3 separate regions of the Homo sapiens genome follow, and all the other regions are linked to region 1. The links are contacts of gene promoters, found by promoter capture Hi-C in human tissues and cell types (Jung and others, 2019). All regions are on one chromosome and are shown on one strand. Each heading gives the region's core, a stretch centred on a gene start or on the middle of the fragment in contact. The rest is flanking DNA. Distances are from core to core; before and after follow the strand shown.

Evidence for each region. The method cuts DNA at HindIII sites, captures the fragments that hold promoters and counts their contacts. A contact is called where the count stands out against the background at its distance.
Region 2: a fragment that was not itself captured here is called in contact with the fragment with the promoter of TMC7 in region 1 in 2 of the 25 tissues and cell types used here (dorsolateral prefrontal cortex and hippocampus).
Region 3: a fragment that was not itself captured here is called in contact with the fragment with the promoter of TMC7 in region 1 in 1 of the 25 tissues and cell types used here (dorsolateral prefrontal cortex).

What each region holds. Positions count from the first base shown.
Region 1 is chr16:18,980,934-18,986,017 of GRCh38, forward strand. It overlaps TMC7 (transmembrane channel like 7), which reads left to right and starts at 3,001. Exons shown (of 16, transcript NM_024847.4): 1 at 3,001-3,197. The coding sequence starts at 3,131. RefSeq lists a silencer at 2,912-2,971. The HindIII fragment of the contact is 36,131 bases long and covers 1-5,084 here.
Region 2 is chr16:19,531,770-19,536,853 of GRCh38, forward strand. It overlaps CCP110 (centriolar coiled-coil protein 110), which reads left to right. Exons shown (of 14, transcript NM_001323572.2): 3 at 647-775; 4 at 4,171-5,084. Among named protein-coding and RNA genes, the nearest start is that of CCP110, 10 kb to the left of the region's middle. The HindIII fragment of the contact is 3,569 bases long and covers 817-4,385 here.
Region 3 is chr16:19,513,714-19,518,797 of GRCh38, forward strand. GDE1 (glycerophosphodiester phosphodiesterase 1) reads right to left here. Exons shown (of 6, transcript NM_016641.4): 2 at 3,301-3,476. Among named protein-coding and RNA genes, the nearest start is that of GDE1, 5.8 kb to the right of the region's middle. The HindIII fragment of the contact is 3,843 bases long and covers 908-4,750 here.

The sequences.
Region 1 (5,084 bases), core at 1,751-4,250:
AAAATTTATTTAACCCCTCTCCGATCAATAGAAATTTAGGCTGCCCCTAGGCAGTTGTTGTTGCCACAGCCCTGGGACCTAAGCTCTAGTCTTATATCCCCATTTTACAGATGAGAAAACAGGCTCAGAAAGTTTGTGGCACATGGTCCAGCTCACATAGGAAATAATCAGAAACCAGGTTCCCATCCAGTGACCTTACCCTTAACCACAATAAAAACAGCTTTTATCAGCTGGGCACGGTGGCTCATGCCTGTCATCCCAGCACTTTGGGAGGCCAAGATGGGCGAATCACTTGAGGTCGGTGGTTTGAGACCAGCCTGGCCAACATGGCGAAACACCATCTCTACTAAAAATACAAAAATTAGCCGGTATGGTGGCAGGTGCCTGTAATCCCAGCTACTCGGGAGGCTGAGGCAGGAGAATTGCTTGAACCTGGGAGGCAGAGGTTGCAGTGAGCCAAGACTGTGCCACTGCCGCCAGCCTGGGCAACAGAGTGAGACTCTGTCTCAAAATAAATAAATAAATAAAAAATAGCTTTTATTTTGAGCCAGGAAATTACTTACCCACACACATAATTTTCTGTTTTGGAATAGTTTTGGATCTACAGAAAACCTTTGAGGATAAGATAGTGAGTTTTCACATGGCCCACGCCCAGTTTCCCCTACTATTAACATCCTACATCAATATGGTACATTTCTCACAATTAATGAACCAAGAGTGATACATGACTATTAACTGAAGTCCCTACTTTATTAAGATTTCCATAGTTTTTAATGTGTTTTAACTTGTGTTCCAGGAACTGAGTAGCTCAGATTATAGGCGTGCACCACCACATTCAGATAATTTTTAAAATTTTTTGGAGAGATGGGGTCTCACTGTGTTGCTCAGGCTAGTCTCCAACTCCTGGGCTCAAGCCATCCTCCTACCTCAGCCTTCTAAAGTGCTGGGATTATAGGCATGAGCCACTGCGTCCAGCCTTTTTTTTTTTTGAGACGGAGTCTCACTCTGTTGCTCAGGCTGGAGTGCAGTGGCACAATCTCGGCTCACTGCAAGCTCCGCTTCCTGGGTTCAAGCAATTCTCTGCCTCAGCCTCCTGAGTAGCTGGGGTTACAGGTGCCCACCACCATACACAGCTAATTTTTTGTATTTTTTTTAGTAGAGACAGGGTTTCACCATCTTGGCCAGGCTGGTCTCGAACTCCTGACCTTGCGATCCACCTGCCTTGGCCTCCCAAAGTGCTGGGATTACAGGCATGAGCCACCACACCCAGTCTCCAGCCTCCTTTTTTTTTTTTTTTAAATGACCTTGACAGTTTTGAGGAATACTAATCAGGTATTCTGTAGAATGCCCCTCAGTTGAATTTGTCTGATATTTTTCTTATGACCACAGAGGTAAAGTGCCCTTCTCATCCCATCGTAGGAAGGGTGCACACCATCCTCATGGCTTAATGTTGATGTTAACTTATTTACTTATTTACTTTTTTTTTTTGAGATGGAGTCTTACTCTGTTGCCCAGGCTGGAGTGCAGTAGTGCAATCTCGACTCACTGCAACCTCCGCCTCCTGGGTTCAAGAGATTCTCCTGCCTCAGCCTCCCTAGTAGCTGGGATTACAGGCGCCCGCCACCATGCCCAGCTAATTTTTTTGTATTTTTGGTAGAGACAGGGTTTCGCCATGTTGGCCAGGCTGGTCTCGAACTCCTGACCTCAAGTGATCCACCTGCCTCGGCCTCCCAAAGTGCTGGGATTACAGGTGTGAGCCACTGATCCCGGATGATGTTAACTTTGATCATCTGTCTGAGACAGTGTTTGTCAGGTATTATCTAATATAAAACCCACCCTCACCCTCTTCCACCACCACTTCCATACTGCACTCTTTTGGAAGGATGTCGCTATGGGCAACTCACACTTAAGGAGTAGGGAGCTAAGCTCCCCATCCTTAAAGTATCTACGTAAATGATTTCAAAATCTGCACAGGAGATTTCTCTCCATTTTCCCCATTTATTTATATTTAGCAATTACTTTTCTTTTTCTTTTTTTTTCTGAGATGGAGTCTCCTTCTGTCGCCCAGGCTGGAGTGCAGTGGCGTGATCTCGGCTCACTGCAACCTCTGCCTCCTGGGTTCCAGCGATTCTCCTGCCTCAGCCTCCCTGGTAGCTGGGACTACAGGCATGCACTACCATGCCAGGCTAATTTTGTATTTTTAGTAGAGACAGGGTTTCACCGTGTTGGCCAGGATAGTCTCGAACTCCTGACCTCAGGTGATCCTCCCGCCTCGGCCTCTCAAAGTGGTGAGATTACAGGTGTGAGCCACTGCGCCTGGCAATTTTATGTTTTTAACCTGCACACGAACAGAGGTAGAGATGAAACGAGGATATAGTGCAAAACGTAAAAGACAAACACTGCACGTGGTTTTCTCTTCACTCGGCCCTCTAGCTCCCCACCCAGAGCTACCACAGGTAGCCAGTTTTTTGCACCCTCTAGGGAGATAGCTTAGGCATTTACAAGCATGTACAAATATATTTTTTGGTTTCCTTTTTGTTCCCAAATGGTAACTTACTAGATGCACTGATTTGGAGTCTTGGGGTTTTTTGCGTGTGGACTTTTTATTTTTTAATTTTAAAGATGGGGGTCTCACTGTGTTGGCCAGGTTGGTCTCAAACTTGTGAGTTCGTGCGGTCCTCCAGCCTCGGACTCCCAAAATGCGAGGATTACAGACGTGAGCCACCACTCCCAACCAGTTATTTTTGTTATTTATTTCTTTATTAGATCAGGTTTGATTTTAGATGCAGGGGGTCCATGTGCATGTTTGTTACATGGGTGTACCGGGTCCTGGTGGAGACTGGGCTCCCAGTGCGCCCAATCTATTGTTATTTTTTAAGCTCAGTGAGACATCAGGGAGGTCGCTGCTTGTCGCCACCGCTGGATGGAGCCTTGCCGGATCTCCCGGGCTCTGCAGCCCCTCTGCGGTCCCTGATGCTCGGCTCCTCGCGGGGGCGCCCCACTCCGGCTTCTGTGATGTCAGCGCCGGAACCTGGAATCCCGGCTCCGCGAGGGAAGGCCGGGGAGGCGGCGGCGGCGGCGGCGGCTGGAGAGGGTCCTCGGCAGCCTCTGAGGAGCGCGGGGCGCGGCCATGAGCGAGTCCAGCGGCAGTGCGCTCCAGCCCGGCAGGCCCAGCCGGCAGCCGGCGGTCCATCCAGGTAGGGCGGCAGGGAGCGCGCGCGGGGACGGTGCCCCTGGGGTCCGAGGGCGCACGGAGGGAGCCGGGTGCTGGAGGCTCGGCCTGGCCGCTGTTCCCTCCCACCCCCGACGCCGGGTGCTCCCGGCTCTGGGGAACAGCAGGTGGGAAGGAGATCTTCCTTATTCCTGCTCCCTCCACAAACGCGTCCTCATCCAATCCAGTGGAACCCAGCCGGGCCAAAAGGACACGAGAACTGCAGTCTGGACCGTGGTGGGTTTGTCTTCCAGCTGTTGACCGAGACAGTCTTTCAATAGCCTCATCTGCTGTTAAATGAAAGGATTTGAGCACCCCCTCCACGCCTAACATTCTGGTATGAGGTGCCTGCCTCCCGGACATTTCAGCCTTCACATACAGTTAGACCAACTTGAAACCGAATTCTGCCTTGTCTGTTTATTGCTGTGGGACCTTTGGTAAGTGGCTTGCCTTCTCTGAGCCTCAGATCCTTCAGCAGTAAAATGGGAATAGAATGGGGCGGGGATTAGCTGAGAATCGTGTGATGTGTCTAGCACAGTGCCTGGCATTGTGGCTAGACAGTCACAATAAATGGTAGCCAGCCAAGTATTATAATCTTTTGTATCGGGTAGAATTACAGTAAAGTATACAGCTCCATGAATTTCTACAGAAATATGTACAACGGCTGCCCAGTCAGGATAAAAAAGTTGCCAGCACTCAGGCAGGGTTCCTTGTAGCATTTGGAGCTTACGAATCTTGTCCTGAACAAAACACAAGACCCTGCTGTAAAGTTTTATCTGCAATGTTTTCTCTTTTTCAGTTTTAGAATAGAGATTTACTGAAACCAAGGATGTAGGGCCGGGCGTGGTGGCTCACGCCTGTAATCCCAGCACTTTGGGAGGCTGAGGCGGGTGGATCACGAGGTCAGGAGTTCAAGACCAGCCTGGCCAAGATGGTGAAACCCCATCTCTACTGAAGATACAAAAATTAGCCAGGAGTGGTGGTGGGTGCTTGTAATCCCAGCTACTTGGGAGGCTGAGGCAGAGAATAGCTTGAACCCGGGAGGCGGAGGTTGCAGTGAGCCGAGATTGCGCCACTGCACTCCAGCCTGGGCGACAGACCAAGACTGTTTCAAAAAAAAAAAAAGAAACCAAGGATATAGAATAAAACATGAGTGTAGATTTGGTCATTGAGGCCTTCAAATTGGATTGTTCCCAATGTCCAGAAGAAAAAAAAAATTTAGAAGAGACCCAAATCAGAAAACAAAAGTTGGGGTGGATTCAATGCGAATTATTTTCTAGCTCAATATTAATACTGCTTATGTCAGCTGAATTTCAGCCTTTCAATAACAGCTAGTCAAGTATTTTTTTAGTTGGTTCCTATTAATAGTCATCTTATTTTAGTGGAATCCATTATATTGAAGATGTCAAGTTCCTCATTTCCCATACAAAGAATGTGAGATTCATCTTTCTTGCATCTTTGCTAAGTGTATGAGGGGACTTTTGGCATCTTTTCAGGAGGACTATAATTGGGCCCTCTAACTAAAAAGTCTTCTATGCCCCTTAGATAGATGAGTTTTTTTTTTTTTTTTTTGATCTTGTACCCACCAACATTGGTGGGAGGCTCAGAAGGGACTGTGTTTGTAACTTTGTAGCACTTTCTAAACAGTGACCTGTTGTATGGGCATTATAGGACAGTCCGTGGGGTGGGGCGGGGGATGGGGGAGGCGACAAATGAGGTCTGGTTTAAAGAATGAGAAGTGTGACCAGGCATGGTGACTCATGCCTGTAATCCAGCACTTTGGGATGCTGAGGCAGGAGGATCACTTGAGCCCAGGAGTTTGAGGTTACAGTAAGCTATGATTATGACACTGGGCTCCAGCCTGGGTGACAGA
Region 2 (5,084 bases), core at 1,351-3,850, 550 kb after region 1:
AGCCTGACCAACATGGTGAAACCCCATCTCTACTAAAAATACAAAAATTAGCTGGGCGTGGTGGCACGCGCCTGTAAGCCCATCTACTCCGGAGGCTGAGGCAGGAGAATCGCTTGAACCCAGGAGGCGGAGGTTGCAGTGAGCCGAGATCGCACCACTGCACTCCAGCCTAGGTGACAGAGCAAGACTCCATCTCAAAAAAAAAAAAAAAAGGATACTGAATGTGAAGTAATATTCAAGTCAATATTCAAGTGAAGTAATAAAAAACTCAGCAGTGGCCAAAAGGGCCTTAATTTTATTTCTGTCATTTTAGAACATTTGATTAGTGAACAAACTTTTTTCTTTTTAACCTTTTAACTGAAAATAATTTACACATAGCAAAATGCACAAATCTTAAGTGTTAAAGTTCCATGAGTTTTGATATATGGCATACACATGTATAACTCACACCCACACAGGATTTTCTTCACCATGGAAAGATCTCTAATGCCCCATCCCACTCAGTACCCAGACCATTGTTCTGATTTCTTTCACTATACATTAGTTTTGCCTGTTGCACATGTTTTTAATCTTTCTGATTCACAACTTCCCGATTTTATGATATTTTTATCGTGGGAAATAATTACATTTTTATGATGTTTTGCAGCTTAACATTGAGAAAAGAAAGGAAATGCAACAAGAAAAGCAGAAAGCACTTGATGTAGAAGCAAGAAAGCAGGTTAACAGGAAGAAAGCTTTACTGACTCGTGTCCAGGAGATTCTTGACAATGTTCAGGTGTGTGATTTTAGCTGTTTCAGTTATAATAAAGAAATCATAAGATAAGCGTTGATGATAATTTTTCTGAAATATATTTGCACTTAACTAATTACTAATGTACTTTACTGTTACGTTTGAGAAGCTTCATAATTTGTGATTTTCCATTTCAGTTACTCCAAAGAGAATGTACTTGCTTGTTAGTAATGCCCAGTACTTGAATCAGAGGATATTTACACAATAGAACCATACACTGAATATAATTGCTTATTGTTTGCATCTTATGACTCTAAAAACATTGAATTCTCAGTGACAAAATGACAGAATTGGGTATTATTGTTTACCCCAAACTAATTAGACTATTGACTAAATGACCTTATTCTCATTCTTTGCTTAAGTAAATAACTGCCTCCAATTTTTTTTTGGTGAAAACTCTTAGATACACAAAATGCAGTTTAGATAACATTGAATTGTTTAGATGCATCCTATGTCTAAAAACTATTTAAACAACACATCTACACCTTGTGCAGTTATTTTTAGATTTGTATAAACAATTTGTTCTGACATGTGGATCATTTTGTACTAAAAAGAAAAACAAATGAATTAGATTGAACGAATAATTTCTACAACATATAGCAGTGTTCTGCTGGTAACATCTTTTTGTTTTTTCATAATCTTAGGAGTTTGTGGTTTGTCTGTTTAATTCGTATCGATGACACGTGTATAATGAACCTTAAGGGTTCATTTCTCTGTTGGTAGTGTAAACTGAAGAAAATGACTGAGGCAAGTCTCAATCGATTTAGAGGTTTGTTTTGCCAAGGTTGAGGATGTGCCAAGGAAAAAGAGACAAAAGTTACAGTAGAATCTGTGGCTTATGCTTTTCCAGAAGAGGTTTTGAGGACTTCAGTGTATAAAGGGGAGAGAACAGCAGGAGGGGAAAGAGGAAAGAAAAAAAAAGGAGGGTAGGTAATGAGATAAGCGATCACATTTTTGTGAGGCTTTGATTAGCACTCACTGAATCCACAAGTCGCATGAGAAAGGTGGGGGTAGAGGAACAGTCAGTTATGCATTCATCTCAAGCTCAATAAATCTGCATTTTACATAGGATAAAGTAAGCAGAGTAGAGGAAGAAGTCAAATATACATTTGTCTCCAAAGGGATGATTTCTAGTCATCTTTGGTCTTTGTCCGTATCTTGTCAGAGTGAAATTCAGCAGAACTCTGGGTTGGTGTAAAGATTTTGGGGCCTACGAGGAATTTCCTTGTGAGCAATTTGCAAGAGAGTCTACCTGGGTAGATAGGTGGCCTTCTATTTTGCAGCTATCTGTTTAGGAATAAAAGGAAGGCAGTTTTTGTGTGACTCAGTTCCTAAGCTTTACTTTTTCCTTTGACATGTGATTTTCCATTTCAGTTACTCGAAATCCCTATGTAATGAGTCTTCAGAATCTGATGAAAAAGTCAAAGGAATATATAGAAAGAGAACAATCTAGACGCAGGCTGAGAGGTAGTATTAAGAGAATTGTTAATGAGAGTCATAGTGACTCTCATGTGACATAGTTGAGTTTGGGGTCCTGAGATATTATTTCCCTTTCACAGTAGTATATAGTGTGTGGGTAGTAGATTTCATTTTGCAGATTATAATTACTGTCCATATTAAGTTTAAAAAATGTATTGAGTAGCACTAATTTAACAATAAGAGGTAGGTTTTTTACTTACTACGTATTTCCTGTGATTGAAATGAAAATGGCATATCATTCTTGGTCCATTGAGGGAAGATAAAATATACTACTAATAAAATTGTTAAAAGAGCATGTATAATGTTGAACTGTAATGAATTAATTATTCAGATAGGAAAATTTTATATAATACAATTAGATTTCTGCTTCACCTGTAAAACCTAAGATTCTATGATAGATTTTTTTCTTGTTGTTATTTAACTTGTCTAACTAAAGGCTCATTTTAGTGACGTATAAACAACATAGCTTCCGAATATCACAAATGTGAAATATTTTACGTAAGGAAATCATCTGTTTTACTTAAACCTGTGAACATGTTCATGGATTTCATAAATATGCATCCTTTTTGTTTTATTTTGGTCCTGAGGCTGTGACTAAGTATGTCTTGTACTCTTGTACTGTTGATTGCATAGTACCTGGAAACCTTTTTGCATCTTTTTTGTTTTATTTTGGTTCTGAGGTTGTGACTAAGTATGTCTTATTGTACTGTGTATTGCATAGTACCTGGAAACCATTACCTGTCTTGGGATTTGTAACGTAAAATAGGAGAGCCATGTGGTCTAGAAAAAAACAAGCACATTCAAAACAACCAAAAAATATTGTAATATTCAGACTTTTTTTTTTTTTTTTTTTTTTTTCTGAGATGGAGTCGCGCTCTGTCGCCCAGGCCGGAGTGCAGTGACGTGATCTTGGCTCACTGCAAGCTCCGCCTCCCAGATTCATGCCATTCTCTTGCTTCAGCCTCCTGAGTAGCTGGGACTACAGGTGCCCACCACCAAGCCCAGCTAATTTTTTGTATTTTTAGTAGAGATGGAGTTTCACTGTGTTAGCCAGGATGATCTTGATCTCCTGACCTCATGATCCGCCCGCCTCGGCCTCCCAAAGTGCTGGGATTACAGGCGTGAGCCACCATGCCCCGCCAGTAGTCAGGCTTTTGATGTCTGTATTCATATGATAATACAATGATTTTTGCCAGTTTAATATACGGATGTATAATTACCTTTAGAAACTATCCTAGTTCTCTTTTTATTCTTTTGCAAAGTTGGATTATTTAGATACAAAATATCTATTTTTACATTCATTCATTCATTCATTCATTCATTTTTGAGACAAAGTTTAGTTAAACTTTGGAGTAAGCATGTAGGTGCAGGAGTCTTATTACTGAATCATTTTTGCTTAATCAATGTCCTGGACAAGTTAGTCTTTGTTAGAGAGGGAATCGTTTACGTAAGACATTTCATTACTTGCTGTTTATTGCATATATTATTATCCTTGGATGATAGCTATCCTAGGAGGAACAGTTGGTAATGTTAATAACATATGACTAGAAGAAATTTAAGTGCTTGTATTCTAAGATTAAATTGCACATGGATATATGAATATATGTGTGTGTGTATACACATATATATGTTCATATTTGTATCAGATTAGATGTTTCTTTTTATAACTCTTTTATAACTCTTTTAATAACTTAGGCAGGATGACCAGTAGGCATCTTTTCAATAATAATTTGAGCCCCCTGTGATACAGGATACCGTAGAAACCTGTCATCTTAGTTTTTCTTTATGTTTTGAAATGTCAGAATTCTGAATTTTCAATTTCAATTTTATTTTAGAAAACAGTGAAATCAGAGACTTTTTGTGCAATGAGGAAATATTAATTTTTAAATTTCCTGTTTCAGGTTAGAAAAGCACCTAATGCCAGTGATTTTGATCAGTGGGAGATGGAAACAGTTTACTCTAATTCAGAAGTCAGAAACTTGAATGTTCCTGCTACATTTCCAAATAGCTTTCCAAGCCATACGGAACACTCTACTGCAGCAAAGCTTGATAAGATAGCTGGGATTTTGCCATTGGATAATGAGGACCAATGTAAAACTGATGGAATAGACTTAGCTAGAGATTCAGAAGGATTTAATTCTCCGAAGCAATGTGATAGTTCCAATATTAGTCATGTAGAAAATGAAGCTTTTCCAAAGACCTCTTCAGCAACCCCACAAGAAACTCTTATTTCTGATGGTCCCTTCTCAGTAAATGAACAACAGGATCTACCACTTTTGGCAGAAGTCATCCCAGATCCCTATGTAATGAGTCTTCAGAATCTGATGAAAAAGTCAAAGGAATATATAGAAAGAGAACAATCTAGACGCAGTCTGAGAGGTAGTATCAACAGAATTGTTAATGAGAGTCATTTAGACAAAGAACATGATGCTGTTGAAGTGGCTGACTGTGTAAAAGAGAAAGGCCAGTTGACAGGCAAACACTGTGTCTCAGTTATTCCTGACAAACCAAGCCTTAATAAATCAAATGTTCTTCTCCAAGGTGCTTCCACTCAAGCAAGCAGCATGAGTATGCCAGTTTTAGCTAGCTTTTCGAAAGTGGACATACCTATACGAACTGGCCATCCCACTGTTCTAGAGTCTAATTCTGATTTTAAAGTTATTCCCACTTTTGTTACCGAAAATAATGTTATCAAAAGTCTTACAGGTTCATATGCCAAATTACCTAGTCCAGAGCCAAGTATGAGTCCTAAAATGCACCGAAGACGTTCCAGGACATCATCAGCGTGTCATATACTTATAAATAACCCAATAAA
Region 3 (5,084 bases), core at 1,579-4,078, 530 kb after region 1:
CTGTACTTGGAACTGATAAAACTGAAAGTATCCAGTAAGTACAGACTAAATGTAATCATAAACTTCCCTTTTATTGCATAAGACTTTCAAACATGCTGTGGTTGCTTTTAAACACAAGTAGGTTGGGCTGTAATTGTGTAAGAAGCAACAAGTAAATGGTTTGCACAAGCACTTTTAGAAAGGTTAAGACAACTGGACCACATGGTGGTGCCCAAGACATTTTTAATTCATATCCTGGTGACAAGTGAGCATTGAAAACCCAAGACTCGTAGATGAGAAGAATTGAAGCACACAGACACCTGAGCACAGAGATTAGAGATTGATGGTCTTTGGTTTCTTATATTGTATAATGGATGTTATTTTTCTGTTTTTTGTTTTGTTTTGTTTTGATTTGTTTTCCTTTTCTGGTAATTCTGTGCTTCTGACACTAGCTATAAATTGGGGTTCCCACCTCCTCCTCCTTGGGTTCAATTAATTTGTTAGAGTGGCTTGCGGAACTCAAACACGTTTACAGGTTTATTATAAAGTATGTTACACAGCATACAGATGAAGACATGCATAGGGTGAGGTATGGGGAAAGGGGCATAGAGCTTCCATGCCCTTTCTGAGTGCTCCATCATTCAGGAACCTCCATGTGTTCAAATACAGATATTCTTGACCAAAGACCAGCAACAACAACAAAAATCATTTAATTTTTAAGAAATCACTGAATTTCTATTGAATTAATAACATTATTAATAACCCTACTTCCCAAAGGGCAGAGTATATGCCACCTTTGGAAAACTCAAAGACTTAATTTTCAGATTGTAATTTCCCTAATAGAATGCTATGCAGGAGGAATTCTTAGGAATACATAAATCTGTTAACTGTATTGTGTATTTATTTAAGTGCAACTGTTTAAAATAAATAATGTTCTAAGACATAATTTTCTGATAAAGAAAATGAAAACTAAGTGCTTGATACAAAAGAAATTAGCTTTTCTCTCATAATAAAATTATTATTTAACTTAATGCTAATTCAACTGCATTATTTCAACTGTAAGATCATGCTTTTAAAAAAGGGTAAGGATAGGCCAGGTACAGTGGGCTCATGCCTGTAAATTCAGCACTTTGGGAAGCTGAGGCAGGCAGATCACCTGAGGTCAGGAGTTCGAGACCAGCCTGGCCAACATGGCGAAACCCCGTTTCTACTAAAAATGCAAAAATTAGCTGGGTGTGGTGGCATGTGCCTGTAATCCCAGCATTCTGGAGGCTGAGGCAGGAGAATCACTTGAACCCGGGAGGTGGAGGTTGCAGTGAGCCAAGATCATGCCATTGCACTCCAAACTGGGCAACAAGAGTGAAACTCCAACTCAAAAAAAAAAAAAAAAAAGATAAGGATAATTTAAACATTACAGGCAATTATCCCAGCCATTCTAATCAATTTCTATTCCCTGAGAGTGAAAGATGGGAGACCTGAATTTGTTATTCCTTTGGCTGATCTTAGTTTCCTCCTTATCCTCCTCTCAGGACAAGCATCTCATCACACTGAGCATAATTCTAGAGAAAATATCTATTTTTTCCCACAACATAATCCGTAAACACAAGCCAATTACTTCATTTAGTTTTCAATCATAGAACACACTCTGTTCCAATAGTGGAGCAAAGACTGGTTGTGTTAAAGACACTGAGATAATATGTTGCCTTTGCTGTCTTCTTAAGGGATTTTTTGAAAATCACAATTTTTTTTCCTAGGATGCACAAATTCCAGAGAAATGGACTCAGTGCTCCCTTAAAGGATTTTTAAGGGTAATGATGACCCTAAACATTTTTGCTTTAAGTATTAACTTTGAACCTGACATTTTATTAGCTGCAATGTCATTATAATATTCAAACCAGCCTTTCCCTTGCATAAGCAGAGCAATACAGTATCTGATGACACTCAAGAACAATTCTAGCAACTTGGACTCATAATTCTCAAGTGTTACCAATATTCTTTCCTGCCTACAGTATGACTTCCTTCGGCAGACTAATGTTTTTCAGATCCTAGGAAAACAGGTCTGGATCATCTTTTAGGAAAAAGTATAACTTAACTGTTGGGTCAAATACTTAATTTTCCAAGAGAATCGATCATTGTCTGGATAATTGATATTACATGAATAACCAGTGAGCACACCCTTTTCAGTACTGCAAAGATGACAAGCAGAGAGGGATTTAAATAACCACATTCCAAAGTACAGTATATTACTCAGCATACCAATTCCAAGGGTGTTTACCGCTGTAAGTGGGGAAGAGGATGTAGGTTCTGTGATCATGTAAGTTTGAGAAAAGCTAAGTTACAAGTAAGAATCAGCTGATGTGGACTGTTTATCCACAACAGAAGTATTCAGAATACACTGTTTGATCTTACTTGAACCCTGTTTTTGCAGAACATCTTGTAAGATTAGCTCTAGTGTATATACTTTGGAAGCTACGTTTACACTCTACCAGGAAGGAATTAAATTAGACACTGAAAGAACTTTTGCTCTTACAGGGTTGAAAGACATTGGGGGCAGCTAAAAACAGCATGATTTGGACTAAAACTTGGGATAGATTCTAGTTTTGGCTTCTTTATGAACTAGTTATTTGCCCTTGAGTAAATAATTTAACTTTTCTGGGATTATATCTAAAGGCAAGATTGATCTAGATCTGTAGTATCCTATATGGTAGCCACACATGGCTATTTCAGTTTAAATTTACATTTAAATTAAAAATTCACTTCCTCGTGTCACTAGCCACATATCAAGTGCTCAATAGCCACAAGTACCTACCATATTACACAGTGCAGATATAAAATATTTCCATCATTGCAGAAAGTTCTACTGCAAAGTGCTATTCTAGATGATTTCTAGGATACTCTCTATTCCTACAATTCTGTGATTCCTCAGAAGTTTGTTATGAGGATCAGAAGAATTAAATGGGTTAAGTTAAAATGTGATATTATAATGTTACTTGAAGCTTTTAATGAATGTATAATTTGCTTCTTGGTACACCTGAAGGCAAGAAGATTGCCAAGCAATGACTTTCAGCCTCATGATTCTATGACTAGACAGTATTATCTTGACAATAATTCTGAAGCCAAATTTAGCCTCAGTGGGAAAGATTAAAAACATAATGCCAAATTTCTGTTGTTCCTGGCACTTGCTCATTACTTACAAGACCTACGTACAGTTCAAAACAAAACAAGACAACTCTCCTGGGGCAGATGTAATTAGAAGGCACCAGTGTCTGTCATTTCCAATAAAAGCTAAAAGATCTGTTTAAGTGACAATAAACTACTTACCTGAGTCTGTGGTTTGCTGCAGGATTCAGCTTCCTAATTTGTTCAAATGTCAAATCACACAATCGCCCAGTCCCATCAGTCGTCCTATCTACTGTGTTATCGTGCATTAAGACAGGAATCCCGTCAGAAGTAAACTCAATGTCCAACTCCACGCCTGTTGCTCCATTCTTAGCTGCCTTAACAAAAACATCAAGAATATTACTGTCAAATGGCCACAAACATTATTTTGCATCTAACCACCCAAAAGACCAGCAGGGCTCCTAAGACAGCTGTCCTTTTTGATTCATTTTCCTTCCACTTCCCCCACCAAACAGCAATCCTGATCTGTTTCTGTTTTCTGTGTATATAACCTTACTTCAATTCCTAACTGATGGATTCCTTAAAAACTTTAATTTTCCCACTCTTCTTACTTTCACAGTGGAAGACTAGGAGACTTCAGGAACTTATGTTTTCTCTGGATGTTTAACTATATGGGTCATCAATGGCTTATGAATACTTAGACAATTCCACTGTTTACCTACACTATTTGTTGGTACAGCAGTTCTGATGATCACCCTACGGTTGTTGATTAGTCAGATATTTCACTACTTTGGCATAAATGAGTCAGGTTTTTGTTGGTTTAATTCCACCCTCTACCACAAAGACACCACGCCTGCTTCTAGGACATATCACATTTTGTTTATGTAAGCAGCACTGGCTGTTGGCCCATAAGTTGTTAAGCTTGATGAGGTAGATTAGAATTTATCTAAAAAGAGAATTTGAACCTTAAATTACACGAGCCATGCTCCTCTGGAGACACACTATTTAATGTTTGCTTCCTTGGCTTCCTCATCACAATAAAGATGTGAAATGCTCATTACGATGAAGATTTCTTTCTTTTTTTTTTTTTTTGGAGACAGGATCTGGCTCTGTTGTTCAGGCTAGAGTGCAGTGGCATGATCTCGGCTCACTAAAACCTCCGCCTCCTGGGTTCAAGCCATCCTCCCACCTCAGTCTCCCAAGTAGCCGGGACTACTGGCACGTGCCACCATGCCCAGCTAATTTTTGTATTTTTTGTAGAGATGGGGTTTCACCATGTTGTCCAGGCTGGTCTCGAACTCCTGAGATCAAGCAATCCTCCTGCCTCAGTCTCCCAAAGTGCTGGGATTACAGGTGTGAGCCACTGTGCCCAGCTATGATCAAGATTTTTAATTTTTTAAAAAATATTTTAAGTCATGGTCTATTGCAAACATCTACAGTAAAAAAGATTTAACATATGTGAATATTTTGACCTAATTTCCTCAGTCTCTTTCTGTACTAAAACAAAAACAAAAACAAAAACTATTATTTATTGAGCCTTTTCTACTTGCCAGGCACTCTTCTAAGTGCTTTAAATGTATTAACTTATTTGATCCTCACAACCCTGAAGCAGGTACTATTAATATTCTCATTTAACAGATAAGAAAACTGAGACAAAGAAAGAGTAGGAAACTTGCCCAGGGCTGCACAAGCTAGGATGCAGTAGAAGTTGCACTCTTATCCGCTTCAGTTTTACTATCAACACTACAGATACAGCTGAAATTCTCCCTTTCATTCTCCTCCTTTCCTCTCCAGAGGTAATTACCATCTTAAAGTTGGTGTATATCATTCTCATGTCACTCCCTTACCGGTTTTTATTTAAGTACCCATAAACAACACAGAGCACTGTGCTAGTGAATAGTTAAGATTTCAATAAATGTTAGCCATTGTTATTTATTATGTCCTTTTAAACACATCTTTAAAGGTAATATAGTCAAATTTATCAA